Regions from separate parts of the Homo sapiens genome. Here regions 1, 3 and 4 are each linked to region 2. The links are contacts of gene promoters, found by promoter capture Hi-C in blood cells and fetal thymus (Javierre and others, 2016). All regions are on one chromosome and are shown on one strand. The core of a region is centred on a gene start or on the middle of the fragment in contact, and the rest is flanking DNA. Distances in the headings are between cores, read along the strand shown. Region 1 overlaps NHEJ1 (non-homologous end joining factor 1). Region 2 holds the start of RESP18 (regulated endocrine specific protein 18). Region 3 holds the start of MIR3131 (microRNA 3131). Region 4 holds the start of CFAP65 (cilia and flagella associated protein 65).

Region 1 (3,254 bases), core at 203-2,702, 260 kb after region 2:
CAAGGCAGGAGGATCACTTGAAGCCAGGAGTTTAATACCAGCCTGGGCAACCAAGTGAAACCCTATCTTTACAAAAAACAAAATTAGCCAGATATGGCAGCATGTGCCTGTGGTCTCAGCTACTTTGGAGGCTGAGACAGGCGGATTGCTCGAGCCCAGGAGTTCAAGGCTGCAGTGAGCTCTGATTGTGCCCATGTACTCCAGCCTGGGTGGAAAAAAAAAAAAAAAAAAAAAAAGGCCTCATCCTAACCAGGAGCCATGAGAGGAAGAAAGTTCCTTTCCTAATTTCAGTGGAACTATTTCAAAACCCCTACTAACTTGGGTTCCCTTTTTTCTAGGGTACTTCAGGCCCTCTGCAGAGACCTCAGCTGTCAAAGGTCAAGAGGAAGAAGCCAAGGGGTCTCTTCAGTTAATCTGTTGTGGCCTCAGCTGCTGAGGATGGACTTGGAGAACAGCTTCCAAGCTTCACCTTGAAAGAAGCTTACATGGCAGCAATATTTCTAAAATAGTGATACAGTCAGAGGCCTCCTGTAAGGGCGAGAGAACTGAAGTTGATGTTGACAGGCCCACAGGGAATTGGCCTTCCCTGTTCAAGTGGAAGCCAGTCTCTGAGAATCCCGTGCTCTCCTCTCTTTTGGTGGAGGTTCTGTAGGTTCAGGTTTCTACCATGGACTTTAGGTATATAGGGCAAGTCAGCAAGAAAGCACCACACACTCAGGAAGCCTTGTCTACCTTTCCCTAGCGTCTCTAGCCAGCCAGCCCCAGATACTCCTCAGAGACCCACTTCTCTCTTTTGCATGGAATAAAAAGCACTCACAGTCCCTGCTTTTGGGATTACTTATGCTGTGGAACTCATAACCCAATTCACTTCCTTCACTGGGTCCCACCCCATTGTTGTCTCTGGATGAAGTCTAGCCATCAGTCTGGTCCTTCAGATTCTTCGTAAACTTTTCTGCAGTTGCCAGAGCTAAGTCTCCATTTGGAAACTTTGATCTCAAGAACTCTCTTGATGGTGGGCACAAGACAGATAGGTGATTGCTGCTTTCCTTTGCCAAACTTGGATGCATTTTTCTCTTTGTTTCCAAAGTATAGGCAACAGGTTAAACTACCACGTGGGGTAGTTTATCAATCCTCCCGCCTCATCCTTCTGCATAACTGGGACTAAAGGCACACACCACCACACCTAGCTAATTTTTGTATTTTTTTGTGTGTGGAGACAAGGCTTTGCCATGTTGCCCAGGCTGGTCTTGAACTCCTGGACTCTAGTGATCTGCCCACCTCAACCTCCCAAAGTGCTGGGATTACAGGCATGAGCTACCACGCCTATCCAATTTCTGGTTTATTTACTTTCGATGGTTAAATGCCTCCTTATTCAAATATCCTGTATATATACTGGCGTTTCTGTCCTGATGTCAAGTCTCGAGAGAAGATGATCAAACAATAATAAAATAATTATAATAAGAACAACAATAATAAATAGCTAACATTTATTGAGCAGTTAATGTATACCAGCTACTCTAATGAGCACTTGACATTGATCCTCATAGCATCATATGAGGAAGATGCTGTTAACCCATTAAGAAATTGGATCCTGAAGTGAGTAAGTGACTTATCAAAGGTCATACAGCTAATAAGTGACAGCCAGAATTTAAGCCCAGACAGCTGAGTTCTTAACAGCATTATTATATACACTAATGAAAACATTTATTTTCCAGAAAGGACATTAGGTTCTTCTTTCCAGTCTCCCACTGTAAACCTCCTTATCCCATGACCTTGCCTCTTTTCAATAGGATGTCTGCTCCCCAGGGGCTCTTCAAGGAAGGAGCTCTTGAGGACTCCAGGACTTACCCTCATGCTTTTTCCTGCTAGCAGAGTCTGAGATCTCCACCAAGGCTCATTCCCAGTCACTGCTGATAACTTTTCTTTACCCCCAGACCACAGGACCCTAGAGTGTGCTGTGTGGTAGTGACTGTCATCGAAGTGAATTGGGAACTATATAAAAACAGCCTATCAGCTGGCTTACTTTGCTCTTTTGTTACTTTTTTTTTTTTTTAATGGAGTCTTGCTCTTGTTGCCTAGGCTGGAGTACAATCGCACAATTTTGGCTCACTGCAAACTCCACCTCCTGTGTTCAAGTGATTCTCCTGCCTCAGCCTCCCGAGTAGCTGGGATTAGATGCCTGCCACCAAGCCCGGCTAATTTTTGTATTTTTTGTAGAGACAGGGTTTCACCATGTTGGCTAGGCTGGTCTCGAACTCCTGACCTCAGGTGATCTACCTGCCTCGGCCTCCCAAAGTGCTGGGATTACACGTTTGAGCCACTGTGCCTGGCCGATCTTTCGTTTCTTTTCAGCATAATTTAGATAGTCAGATTTCAGTATCTACAAGGCACATGGAAAATGGAAAGGCTTCCCCTGCAAGCTTGGAGAAAATACCGGTTCTTCACCCTGGGCATTCCCTGTACTGTAACAGCACAGACTCAAGACATTTTTCATCACAGCGGGGCCAGAGGCCTGTGAATCCCTCAAAATTGTAGGTAAAATCTTAAGAGCAAAATTTTGTTGATGTTCTCAAAAAGAATGTGTGACTTTCTAAAAAGGTTAAGTAAGAATATAGCTAGTAACCTTCCATCCACTGCCCCCATCATCCCCAAAGGTTGCTGTCTCCATTGGGGTATTGCTTAAATACGTTGTTAGAGAAACATTGCTACCAGAGGCCCTGCCACAGGCATTCTTGCCCCGAAGCCCTTACCCCGCAAAGCTAGGGGTAGTGGTTGAGAATCATTCATCCTAAGGCAACTCCAGGGAAATCCCTGCTTTGACAAATTGGCCTAGCCAGGCTGTATTCCAGCCCTGCCCCCTGGCTTGGGCCCCTCCCTGAGGCCCCCAGCCTGGCCCAACCCCCACTCTACATGCACATAAAAGGGTCGAATTCTCGTGGCTGCTCCATAAATTTTATTCCGTAAATATTAGTTTTCCCTGTGTTTAATAAAGCAGTGGCCCACCTCCCCGCCTACCCGCCCGCTCCCCGGGGCTGGGGCTGGGGCCAGGGCTGGCTGGTGGGAGAAGGGACTCTTTCAATTGCTTTGGAGTATTTTTAGAAAAAAAAATAATATAAGGTGGTTTACACGAGCAAGCCAGCAAACCAGGAGCAGGACTTGGGACCTCGAGGAAGTTCCTGCAGGAACTTGACCTAAAAAGTAGAGAAATAGCGCCACCTAGATTGCAAGGCCTACTTGGCCTTGCCGGCTGGTCC
Region 2 (3,457 bases), core at 304-2,803:
AGAGTTCACTGCAGTACACAGGGAAACAGCTCTGTCAGCAACTGGCAGTCTTACTAAGGAAACAGCTTTTGGAGTACAGAGATGCCAGAGCATCTGGAAATTGAGGAAGAAATTTAGAAAATGAATAAATTACAGAGAGAGGAACTCAAAATCTGCATCCTAACTCCCCTCCAATTCTTAGCTATCTTCTAAATGGCACTTGCGCAGGGTGAGATTTCAAGGAACCTAGTGAAAAAGTCAAATATCTGAACAGAGATTTTGGCAGCTGTCACAGTGTTAGGGTGACTGAGTTTGGAGTTCAGGACCCGTAAAATAGAGAGTTTTGGTAAATGACTTTGGGTTATGTTGAAATCCAAAAAGGACCACACCTTAGCCATAAGCACCATATCCCAGGACTAAGAGATACAGGCTAGAATTGAGAATAGGATGAAGTACTCCTTCCCTAACCAGACTGCCACAGGATCAAGACTTTTTACCAAAAATTTAATTGCCTGCCAGAACAAACTCAAACTATTACCCTTTAAAGATAATAATATAATTCAGATCCTTTGTAATGTATCAACCCCAAATGTTCACTATACAAACCCTTAGGTTTAAGTAATCCACTATCTCGACCTCCCAAAGTGCTGAGATTACAAGCATGAGCCACCATGCCCAGTTTAATAAATGTTTTAAGCTTAATGAAAAAAAATTTAAATGCCAGTCTAAGAGTTAGAAAGCTCACAAACTAGCTTGTAAGTACACAAGAGTGAAAGCAAGAGGTCAGTTAGCTAGTTAGTTACTACAACAACTCAATTTAAAAGAGTACAGTGTCCAAGGCCTGGCATGGTGGCTCATGCCAGTAATGCCAACACTTTGGGGGGCCAAGGTGGGAGGATTGCTTGAGCCTAGGAGTTTGAGATCAGCCTGGGAAACATGGCAAAACCCTGTCTCTACAAAAATAAATAAATAAATAAATAAAATTGGCTGGGCATGGTAGTGTGCACCTGTAGTCCCAGCTACTCTGGAGCCTGAGGTTGAGTAGAGGTCGAGCGGAGGTTGTGGTGATCTGAAATTGCAAGACTGTCTCAAAAAAAAAAAAAAAAAAAAGTACAGTGTGCAGTGGTTTGGACCAAGGCGATGGCAGTGGATGTGGAGTAAAGTGGATGGATGTGCCATATATAATATATAATATATAATATTATATATATATATATAGCAGATCGAACCTATATGATTTCTAAAGGGTTTTAAGTGGGCCAGAGTAAAGAGTGTCAAGGATAATAAAATAAACTAAATTCCTTGAGTGCCTACTGTTTCATCGCTGTTCATATTTGATTCTCACAACAAACCTGAGTAGGTACAACTTGCACCCGTATCTTACGTGCCATCCGTTTCTGCAGCCTTAGGACTGGGAGTACAGGCGGTGGTTCTTGGGACCCAGCTAATGCCCGAAAGGAGCCGGGTCAGGAATTCCAAGAGATGAGGGTGGGGAGGCGGTAGGGGAAGGAGCTGGGGAGGCGACCGCAGGGGCAGGGCCCGCTCACGATTGGCTGAACTGCCGAGGAGGGTTAAACAGATTCGGAGTCGCGGGCTGGTGGGAAGCTGCAGCCCCGCTCAGCCCCTCGGCCGTGGCCGCTACCTTCACTGAGACTTGGCCGGGGAGTGAGCGCGCCGAGCCTGGGAGGATACAGCACCCACTGTGGCCTGGGAGCTCCGAGGGGCTCCAGCTGCTTGTCTGCTTCCTGCTGCTGAACAGCTGCCCGGGGGGCTGCAGCGACACTAGTGCCCACGGTCAGGAGGAACCCTGGGGGGTGCGGGCAGGGCCAAGAAAGCGATCCTGAGAAGTGGGGGTCTGCAGGGGGCCTCAAGGCTAGGAAACTTGGAAGTAAAAGAATGTGCTTAAGGACGTGAGAAGAGAAAAAGGTAGACAGCGTCTAGCGGAAAGAGGCATAGGCTTCAGATAGGCTGGGCATATGGGGTCTGGACTCACGAGAAGTGGGTTCAGGTGAAAATTGGGGATTTGGGAAGAGGTCAGAAAGACAAATGAACAGAGAGAGGTAAAACTGGCCTATGTGGCCACAGGAGAAGCAAGAAAGGCCAGAAAAAGAGTTGACCAGGGCTGCGGGTATCGGGGTCTTGGCTCCAGGGAGAAGGCTGGGCCAGGAGACGAGCCAGGGCTTCCTCGTGCTGTGATCCGGTTTCCAATAAGGGGACCGCTGAGGGAAAGCAGGATGGAGGGGGAATGGGACCATCCTTCTCCCCTTCCCCCGCACCAATCCGCGTAGACCCCGCGCTGACTCACGTGCCAGACTGCGCACACTCGAGAACTCCTGCGCAGAGCGCATGGGGAAGAGAGCGCAAACTCCTAGTCTGTCGCCCCCTCTCCCTGATTTTTGGTTTTAGAGGCCAATGCAGCGGATTCAGGAACAGCTGTGGGAGGAGGCCTGGTGGCAATGAGAGGATGAGGGCCGTGGGGAAGGACCGCCAAGCCTTGCGGAGATGTCTCGCCCACATTCCGCCCAGCGCCGCCGCCACGCTGGCCTCCCCACCTCTCAGCACCACGGACAGCGCCAGGCGCGCTCCGGGTCCACGCCGAGCCCGAGCGGGTCACCACTCCTTCCCACCAGTCCTGGGAACGCTGCCTCAGAGAATCAGCTCCCCTTCCCGAAGCTCTTTCCCTTCTCCTCAGGGTGTTGGAGGTTCCACTACTTCCTTAAGGAGGCTTTCTCATCCCCAAATGTCTCTACTTAAAACTTTGTCACGCTTACCCCCAGGAAATTATTAGACATCCATTTGACTGGGTAGGAGAATTCCCTTTTCTAAAGACCTGTCCAGAATGGCTCATGGTAACTACACTATAGCAAAAAACAGACTGTCCTCCAGCCCTATCTCACTGATCTGGAAGAAGGAAGGTGTGCATAGCATTAGGGGTTCTCTTCCCCAACCCCTGTCCTTCCTCTCATGCACAGTTGGGCAAACTGTGGGCTTCAGGAAAAGGATCCAGAGCCTCAAACCCTAAACAAACCAATACCTTTTCTAATGATTCCAGGCCTCCTCCCTAACACTTCCAGGCTTCAATGACTTCCCTAAGATGAAGCTCACCTGTTTCCCCATGCCCCACCTACCCACCTGATTACTATTCCCATGTGCTCAGCTTTCTGAGCCTCTGCGCATCTGAACTTCTACAGGCTGCTCTTTGTAAATCTGGTTATCTGTAAGTTGGTACCAAGAGTGAATGAGGCCCAGGGGTTGAAGAATATGGCAAGTGGTGATGGAGGAAGGGAAAAATTAAAGAAGACTTGAAGTGGACAAAGCGGCCTGGTAGTGGGAACAGAGGTCAGGGGTCCAGGAGTGACAGTACAAGGAAGCTGCTTCTCTTCAACTGGGATGTGGAAGGCTCTGGCCAGGTTCCTTGCTGACACCACTATTTTGCCCTTAGATGGTCAGGACCAAGTAGGAGTGGGGCAGCTTTGGC
Region 3 (3,423 bases), core at 584-3,083, 270 kb after region 2:
CGCCGCCCCCCGCCGCCGCCGCGTTGCCAAAACAAACGGGCCGGCCTATTTATTGGCGGCCGGCGAGCCCGGCAGCTCAGAGTCGAGGCGCCGAGGGGGACAGCGCGCCGCCACCAGCTCGGGCCCTGGGCCCCCGCCCCGCACTTGAGTCCCGCCGGCCCTGGCCGCACCACGCCGCCCATGGCGCCCCCGCCTGGAGCCCCCCGGAGCCACCCGGACGCCTGAGCCCCCGCAGCGCTCCCGTCGACGCGCCTGCCCATCAGCCCACCAGGAGACCTCGCCCGCCGCTCCCCCGGGCTCCCCGGCCATGTCTCCCGCCCGGCTCCGGCCCCGACTGCACTTCTGCCTGGTCCTGTTGCTGCTGCTGGTGGTGCCGGCGGCATGGGGCTGCGGGCCGGGTCGGGTGGTGGGCAGCCGCCGGCGACCGCCACGCAAACTCGTGCCGCTCGCCTACAAGCAGTTCAGCCCCAATGTGCCCGAGAAGACCCTGGGCGCCAGCGGACGCTATGAAGGCAAGATCGCTCGCAGCTCCGAGCGCTTCAAGGAGCTCACCCCCAATTACAATCCAGACATCATCTTCAAGGACGAGGAGAACACAGGCGCCGACCGCCTCATGACCCAGGTGAGCGCGATCCGCCCTACCAGCGCGCCGCCACCGAAGCACGGCCACCTGCCCGGCCCTACCCACCCCCTGGCACATTTTCTCGACTGGCTGGCACGCTCCCTGGCACCTGCCCCTCTCGCCAAGCCCCGCTGCCTCCTGCCCAAGATGGGCTGGCCAGGGGTCCAGGCAGGAGTGTCGGCATCCCCAAGCCCGGAGGAGACTGCTAGAAGAGCTCCCCGCTGCCAAGCCCCACAGCCCAGCAGGTTGGCGGCGGCTCCTCTGCCCCAAAGTACTGGCAGCTCAGCCAGACGCTGCACCCGGAGGTACCTCTACCCGGCTGCCTCCTGCGCCTCCAGGACCCACGCAGTCCCTCCCGGCCTAACCTTCTGCACAGCTGTGCCCCTTTCATTTTGAAACTTTTCGGCACCCCTGAGGCAAAGAATCTCTGGGTGCGTAGGGTCACCACGGCCTTTCCTCCCTGTGCGCTCTTGGTTCTACGGGCTGCCCCTTCCAGGAGCAGCGTCCCGGCTGGGTCTGGGGTTAAGAACAGCGAGGAAGAGTTGAATCGGGAGGCGGAGGTGGGAAAAGGAACCTGCCCAGCGAGCCCACGTGTCTGTCCGGAGAGCTGAGGGGTGCTACTGCGGTGGAAGGGTGGGTTATTGGGGCCTTCGGGCTCTGGGACTGAGCTTAGGGGATTCCTGGGCTTGGTGGTGGGGACGGGAAGGAGTGGAAAAGAGGGGCTGAGATGCCGAGGGAGGCAGGGACCAGGGCTGACGCTAGTCTCTGCATGCTGGAGTAGGACCCGCGCTCCACCCAAGCTTAGAGGCGCAAATTCCTTCCCAGCAGCCAGGTCCGCGAGGGGAGAGACCTTCACCCCCTTCCTTCGGGGTCTCCCGAGGCTTCCCCCTGAAAGCAGGCCCCTGGCTTTCTAGATCCGTTGGGAAGAGCAGCTAGACTCAGGGCCCTCAGCATGCACCCTGGCGCCGGGGCTGGCCGGCCAGTGTCGGGGCCGAAGGTTGGCTGGTGGCCGGGCCGGGCCGGGCGCCGAGGAATGCAGATAAGGATCCGGGCCACGGGCTGGGCAATCATTGACAGCGCACGCCCGGGCTCTGGACCCGAGAGGGGGCGGTGGCAGTGAGGGAGAGAGGCGGGGAACCAGGGCTGCAGGCGGGCATAGGTGCGGGGCTAGAAGCCTGACGGCAGGGTCTACGAAGGAGCAAGCGGAGCTCCCTCCCTGGGCAGTAAGCACCCCCAGCCAGGCTGTGCACCAGCGAGGACCTGCGAGGCCCTGGGTTGTAGCTGCTATTGGCTCCTAGGAAGGCTGAGTCCAAGGGTCTGTGAGGCCCGGGCTCTGCAGGGTGGGGGTAGGTTGAGACTTGGGCTGCCCACACTTGTTGGCGCCTCGAATCTCAGAGTCTCAGAGTCGAGGACTGGTGGAAGGGCCTTTCCCCTCAGACCAAGGCCCTGGCCCCAGCTTCTTCTCAGAGTCAGCTGCACAGTCTCTTGGGCTCTCAGGACCCAGGCACACCAGGAGGCAGCAACCAAGGATGACCGCTTCGGTCCTTCCCCCAGGGCGCGGCTCTACCCCAACTCCACGTGAGGAGGATGGTGGAGCTGGCTCCCTGAGATCAGAAGCTTGGTTTATGGAGTTCCTTCCTACGGTATAGGGGCGGGGCACCGGTGCAGAGGTCCTGGAGGTCTGGGATTGTCAGCCCCTTTTGCGCCTTGCAGAGGAAGACGTTGCATGTGGCCCCCCATTGGGCGGCCCTGGCGCTAATCCGCCGGTTTCTGGTTCCCTGGCCCTGTCATCTCTGGCGGGGTTGTGGGCCGGTTTAAGATTATAAGAGGGTCCCGGCGGGAATCCTCGGTGGTGCTCGAGGGATCCAGGCAGGCCGGCGATTCCCCTCCAACACACCCCCTGAAGCTACCGAGACGCTCTGCACCTGCCGCGCCTCCAGAGCCTGTCGTCCCCAGGCCTCAGCCCTGAGGCTGCGGTGACACCTACTGGGCACCTCGGGCCTTGCACGCCTCGCAGGCCGGCCGCAGGCAGTCGGCTCTGCTGCCACTCCTCCCTCCCGGCCGCTGGCTGGCCCTCCTGCCTTGGAGGCACAGAGGGACCGGGCGCTGAAAGGTGTAGTCCTGTCTGTGGAGGGATGGATACCCGGAGCTGAAGACAGCACAGGAGAGAGGGGACCTCCACCTACCAGTGAAGGCGCCGCCAGGGCGCTTGCCTCCATGCCTCCTCCAGATTTGTGATACCGCCGTGCGGTCCAGATCCCCGGGGGCGGCTGTATGCTAGGGAGGGAGCACTTCAGGGCCCTCTGTTCCTAAGGGAGAGGGACAGCACCCTCCCGGGCTTCCAGCTCCCTTGGGTGTGGCGGGAGAGTTCTGGGCGAGGCTGCGCCTACACCTGCACCTCGGCCGGCTCCTCCGGCTGATTTCGCTCTGGTTGATTTCGCGCACATTCCTCTCCCAGCGCTGCAAGGACCGCCTGAACTCGCTGGCTATCTCGGTGATGAACCAGTGGCCCGGTGTGAAGCTGCGGGTGACCGAGGGCTGGGACGAGGACGGCCACCACTCAGAGGAGTCCCTGCATTATGAGGGCCGCGCGGTGGACATCACCACATCAGACCGCGACCGCAATAAGTATGGACTGCTGGCGCGCTTGGCAGTGGAGGCCGGCTTTGACTGGGTGTATTACGAGTCAAAGGCCCACGTGCATTGCTCCGTCAAGTCCGGTGAGCCGCCGCCGGGGGGCTGGGCCCGGGGCCGGGGCCGCAGGGCATGGGCAGGAGGAGTAGTGCCGAGAAGGTGAAGAG
Region 4 (3,516 bases), core at 537-3,036, 290 kb after region 2:
CTGGGATTACAGGCATGAGCCACCATGCCCGACTAATGTTTATGTTTTTAGTAGAGGCACGGTTTCACCCTGTTGGTCAGGCTGGTCTTGAACTCCTGACCAAACTCCTGATCCACTAGCCTCCACCTCCCAAAGAGTGGGCATTACAGGTGTGAGCCACCGCACTTGGCTGCCTCTCCCATGATCTATTTTTGGGTCCAGGGAAAATATGATCAACAGGTCCCAGGACCCATTATTCCACTGGTTCTAGGCTCCTGGAAAGGGAGAGTTTCAAAGCAAACTCAGCTTCCTCTTTTCCCTCCTCAGGCTCAATCCCTTGTGAAGGCTCTTTCCATGTGTGTGCCTCCCTGGGCAAAGTCCAGCACACAGGCTTCTCCCTGGGAGTCCACTGATGTCAGCTGTGGTCACTAGGCATCAGGGCTTCTAGGAGGCAGCTAGACGCTTACAGAAGCAGAGGCTACAGGGGCCCTGCTAAGAGGAGGAACCATTCCCTTTAATTTTTCCAAACCCAGAATCCACCATTGAGCAGGCAAGAGCTCAGGAAGGAGACTCCCCGGTGAAGAGGCACGAGGACGCCTTTAGCATGAGCTGTGCTTCCTCCTTGGAGTTTTCCCACTGAGATTCCTGGGGCCAACACCAAACCCTGCCCCCAAAGTCCCTATTTCATTTTCGCCTAAGAATGAACCAGTTCCTTTCCTTGTCCTTAAGGTCCAGCTGAGTTAGGCTGACCATTTCAAAAAGAATTTGGGGAAAAACAAAAAGGAAATAATTATAGAAACTACAAACAGCATAAAAGTCGTCATGTCCAAAGTGCAGGTTTCAGATTCTGAGAATCCCATTAAATCCAGGGAAAAGCTCACTGAGTTCCACATTCTTTGATTCCCGGAAAACTCTTGATCCTGCTGGCGTAATTTACCAGGCGCCCTGCCTGCCCCTTCCCTCCAGCCCTGCCAGTCTCTGGCCATGTGATCTCCCAGGCCAGCTCAGGCCACTTTGCCATCTCAGTCCATCTTTCACCTTTCACAAGTCAACTCCAACTCTCCCAAAATGATAGCTTATTTTCTGTGTTTACCCCTAGACTCACTAAGCTCTCTCCCCCTAGTCACATCCCCCCTTCCATCTGAAAGGAAATAGGTTCACTGTCTTGAGGAGCAAAACATCCTTAGTTACCCAAGAGTGAACTTTGAGACTTTCAGCTTCACCTACTAAGGAGTCTTCACAAAATAGGACCCTTCCTCCAACACACATACCAACAAATGAACCAATGGGCTTCCGAAAGTCTACATTATGTATAATAATTCCTTTATACATTAACCTTCCGATCCCTTCAAAAGAGTTATTTTTCTTGTTGCTGACCAAGAAGAAATGCCGGGAGAAAACGCAGAGGACGCATTCCCTCTCATCAGCAAAAGGGTTCTATTTGCAAAGCAATATTCAAATAAGAAATAACTGCGGGCTGCTTTTAAGTTAACAATTGCAATCACAGAGAATGAGCTTCTGTCTCTATGCATGTCAGAGTGCCAAGCCCACAGAGTAGCTTCCTGTGAATTTGGTCGTCAATTAAAGTCATGATTGCTGGAACGTCACGACAACTAGGAGGCTCTACATTACCATGTCGCGACAGGTAGAAGCCCACAGTTACTACCAGCAGGAAAAGTCAGGGAATCAAAACTGAATATAGGAAATAAAATTGGGCGGTGCCTTCGCCTTCTACGAATCTTGACTTACTCGGGCTGCCGTCGTTGCCCTGGGATATCTGAAGACGCCGTTTCCTGCGCGTCCTGTATCTATGGAGACGGCAATATGGAGGCGATGTAAGTTCTGAGCGTTAGTCCCAAGGTCCCAGGGTCTCAGGGAGCGGCGCGAGTGGCCAGGGAAGGTATCTGTCCCGGGAGACCCTATCCTTCGGGAAATCGTGGCCAGAGGTCCCCTCCATGCCCTTCAGAGAGCCCCATGGGACTGAGTCTTGGGCGAGATCAATCAGACTAAGGATCCCGAAGAGAAAGAAGAAACAGCTCTAAGTGTATTTTGTCCCCCTTTGTTTCATCTATTTCTTTCTCCCTCGACTCTATACGACGACCTGCCACTTTTTCTAGTGGTCATCTTGGAGATTTTTAGATCAGCAATTAGGCAAATAAAGGAAGCTCATGATATATATTTTTTAAAGTCCTCGAAATTGGAAACTTCAATTTAAAACAAAACAAATCCAAAACAAAACAAAAAACCTCGCTTGCCCAGTCTCTTCACAACGACTGCAGATGTGTGAGTCTTTTGGAAGAATAGTGCAGGCTAGTGGGAAAGTTATGGTTGTTAATTACTATAACGTGTTTGTTTAGTGCTTTTTCAAATCCTCTGTTTCATTCGAGCTGCACATCGACTTTGTGAAATCGTCAGGATAACCCACATTTTACAGGCGAGGAGGCTGAGGCTCCGGGAGATGGAGAAATTTGCCTATCCCCGTAGAGTCTGAGAAGATGCTGGCACCCAGCGTCCCTTGCCCTGGGACCACTTCCCTAGCCCTATGACCTGTGTTGGACCAGCTTTCTACCCCATCATCTCTCATCTCTTCCATGCACTCTCTGGAATAGTTTCATGTGTTGAGTGGAGACTTTTTCAGAGCTCTGAGGCAGGAGCTGTCTGTACAGTCCCCTGAGGTCAGAGGCATTAATGAGTCAGGACAGGGCTGCAAGACCATCCCGTGGCAGAAAAGTAATGGACTCTCTCTGTGTCTCCTCAGCTTACATTTCTTTGATTTCATCTGAACGTCCAGTTCACAATTGGAGGTAGGAGCCTTGCCTGCCTTGTCTGGTGCCTAGCACAGTACCTGGTACATAATAGTAAGTGCTTTGTGAATGAACGAACGACTGAATCTAGATAGTCCCCTCCAGAGGGTTTAGACATGTTGCCAACTAGGAAAACCAGGGTCAACAGAATCTTCCGCTTTGGAAGGGTGTTGGTGGGTGGTGGGGGAGGGATAAGAGAGTGTCTGATGGAACTGTATAAATTCCTAAAGGGTGATCATGAAATTGTTTGCTAAATCTGAACACATTAAAATAAGGAACTAAACGACAAACTTGAAAAAGGATCATTTTAGGCCAAATAAATGGGCAAGTCACACGTAATCATAAACTGTTGTAAGAATTAAAATACCTGTAAGGGAGAATTGCTTGAACCTGGGAGGTGGAGGTTGCAGTGAGCCAAGATCTTGCCACTGCACTCCAGCCTGGGCAACAGAATGAGAGTCTGTCTTAAATAAATAAATAAATAAATAAATAAATAAATAAATAAAATCCCTCTAAGGACTTTACAACACTGCCTGGCACGTGGATTCTCAGTACATGTTAATAGACATTATTATTTTTGAGATTGTTATTTGAAGAAGTGAGGGAGGATACTGAGTAGTCTGAAAAATAAACATATGTTCAAAAAAGGTATTAAAGTGATGCTGTCCAATGTGGTAGCCAATAGCCATATGTAGCTATTCAGCACTGAAAATATGGGTAGTCCAAATTGAGA

Evidence for each region. The method cuts DNA at HindIII sites, captures the fragments that hold promoters and counts their contacts. A CHiCAGO score of 5 or more calls a contact.
Region 1: a fragment that was not itself captured here is called in contact with the fragment with the promoter of RESP18 in region 2 in 3 of 17 cell types (erythroblasts, neutrophils and megakaryocytes); the score reaches 6.6 in erythroblasts.
Region 3: a contact is called between a fragment that was not itself captured here and the fragment with the promoter of RESP18 in region 2, in 5 of 17 cell types (naive CD4 T cells, erythroblasts, megakaryocytes and 2 more). The highest score is 6.7, in naive CD4 T cells.
Region 4: a contact is called between the fragment with the promoter of CFAP65 here and the fragment with the promoter of RESP18 in region 2, in 16 of 17 cell types (erythroblasts, M2 macrophages, M0 macrophages and 13 more). The highest score is 15.0, in erythroblasts.

Annotation. Positions count from the first base shown.
Region 1 is chr2:219,073,540-219,076,793 of GRCh38, reverse strand. It overlaps NHEJ1 (non-homologous end joining factor 1), which reads left to right. Exons shown (of 8, transcript NM_024782.3): 8 at 339-3,254. The coding sequence ends at 413. Among named protein-coding and RNA genes, the nearest start is that of IHH, 14 kb to the right of the region's middle. The HindIII fragment of the contact is 1,940 bases long and covers 483-2,422 here.
Region 2 is chr2:219,330,840-219,334,296 of GRCh38, reverse strand. RESP18 (regulated endocrine specific protein 18) reads left to right here and starts at 1,553. Exons shown (of 6, transcript NM_001441699.1): 1 at 1,553-1,773; 2 at 3,422-3,457. The coding sequence starts at 1,668. The HindIII fragment of the contact is 5,862 bases long and covers 679-3,457 here.
Region 3 is chr2:219,057,352-219,060,774 of GRCh38, reverse strand. It overlaps IHH (Indian hedgehog signaling molecule), which reads left to right. Exons shown (of 3, transcript NM_002181.4): 1 at 1-622; 2 at 3,081-3,342. The coding sequence starts at 308. MIR3131 (microRNA 3131) reads left to right here and starts at 2,025; the gene lies at 2,025-2,087. The HindIII fragment of the contact is 817 bases long and covers 1,425-2,241 here.
Region 4 is chr2:219,039,786-219,043,301 of GRCh38, reverse strand. It overlaps CFAP65 (cilia and flagella associated protein 65), which reads left to right and starts at 1,786. Exons shown (of 35, transcript NM_194302.4): 1 at 1,786-1,814; 2 at 2,738-2,783. The HindIII fragment of the contact is 30,940 bases long and covers 1-3,516 here.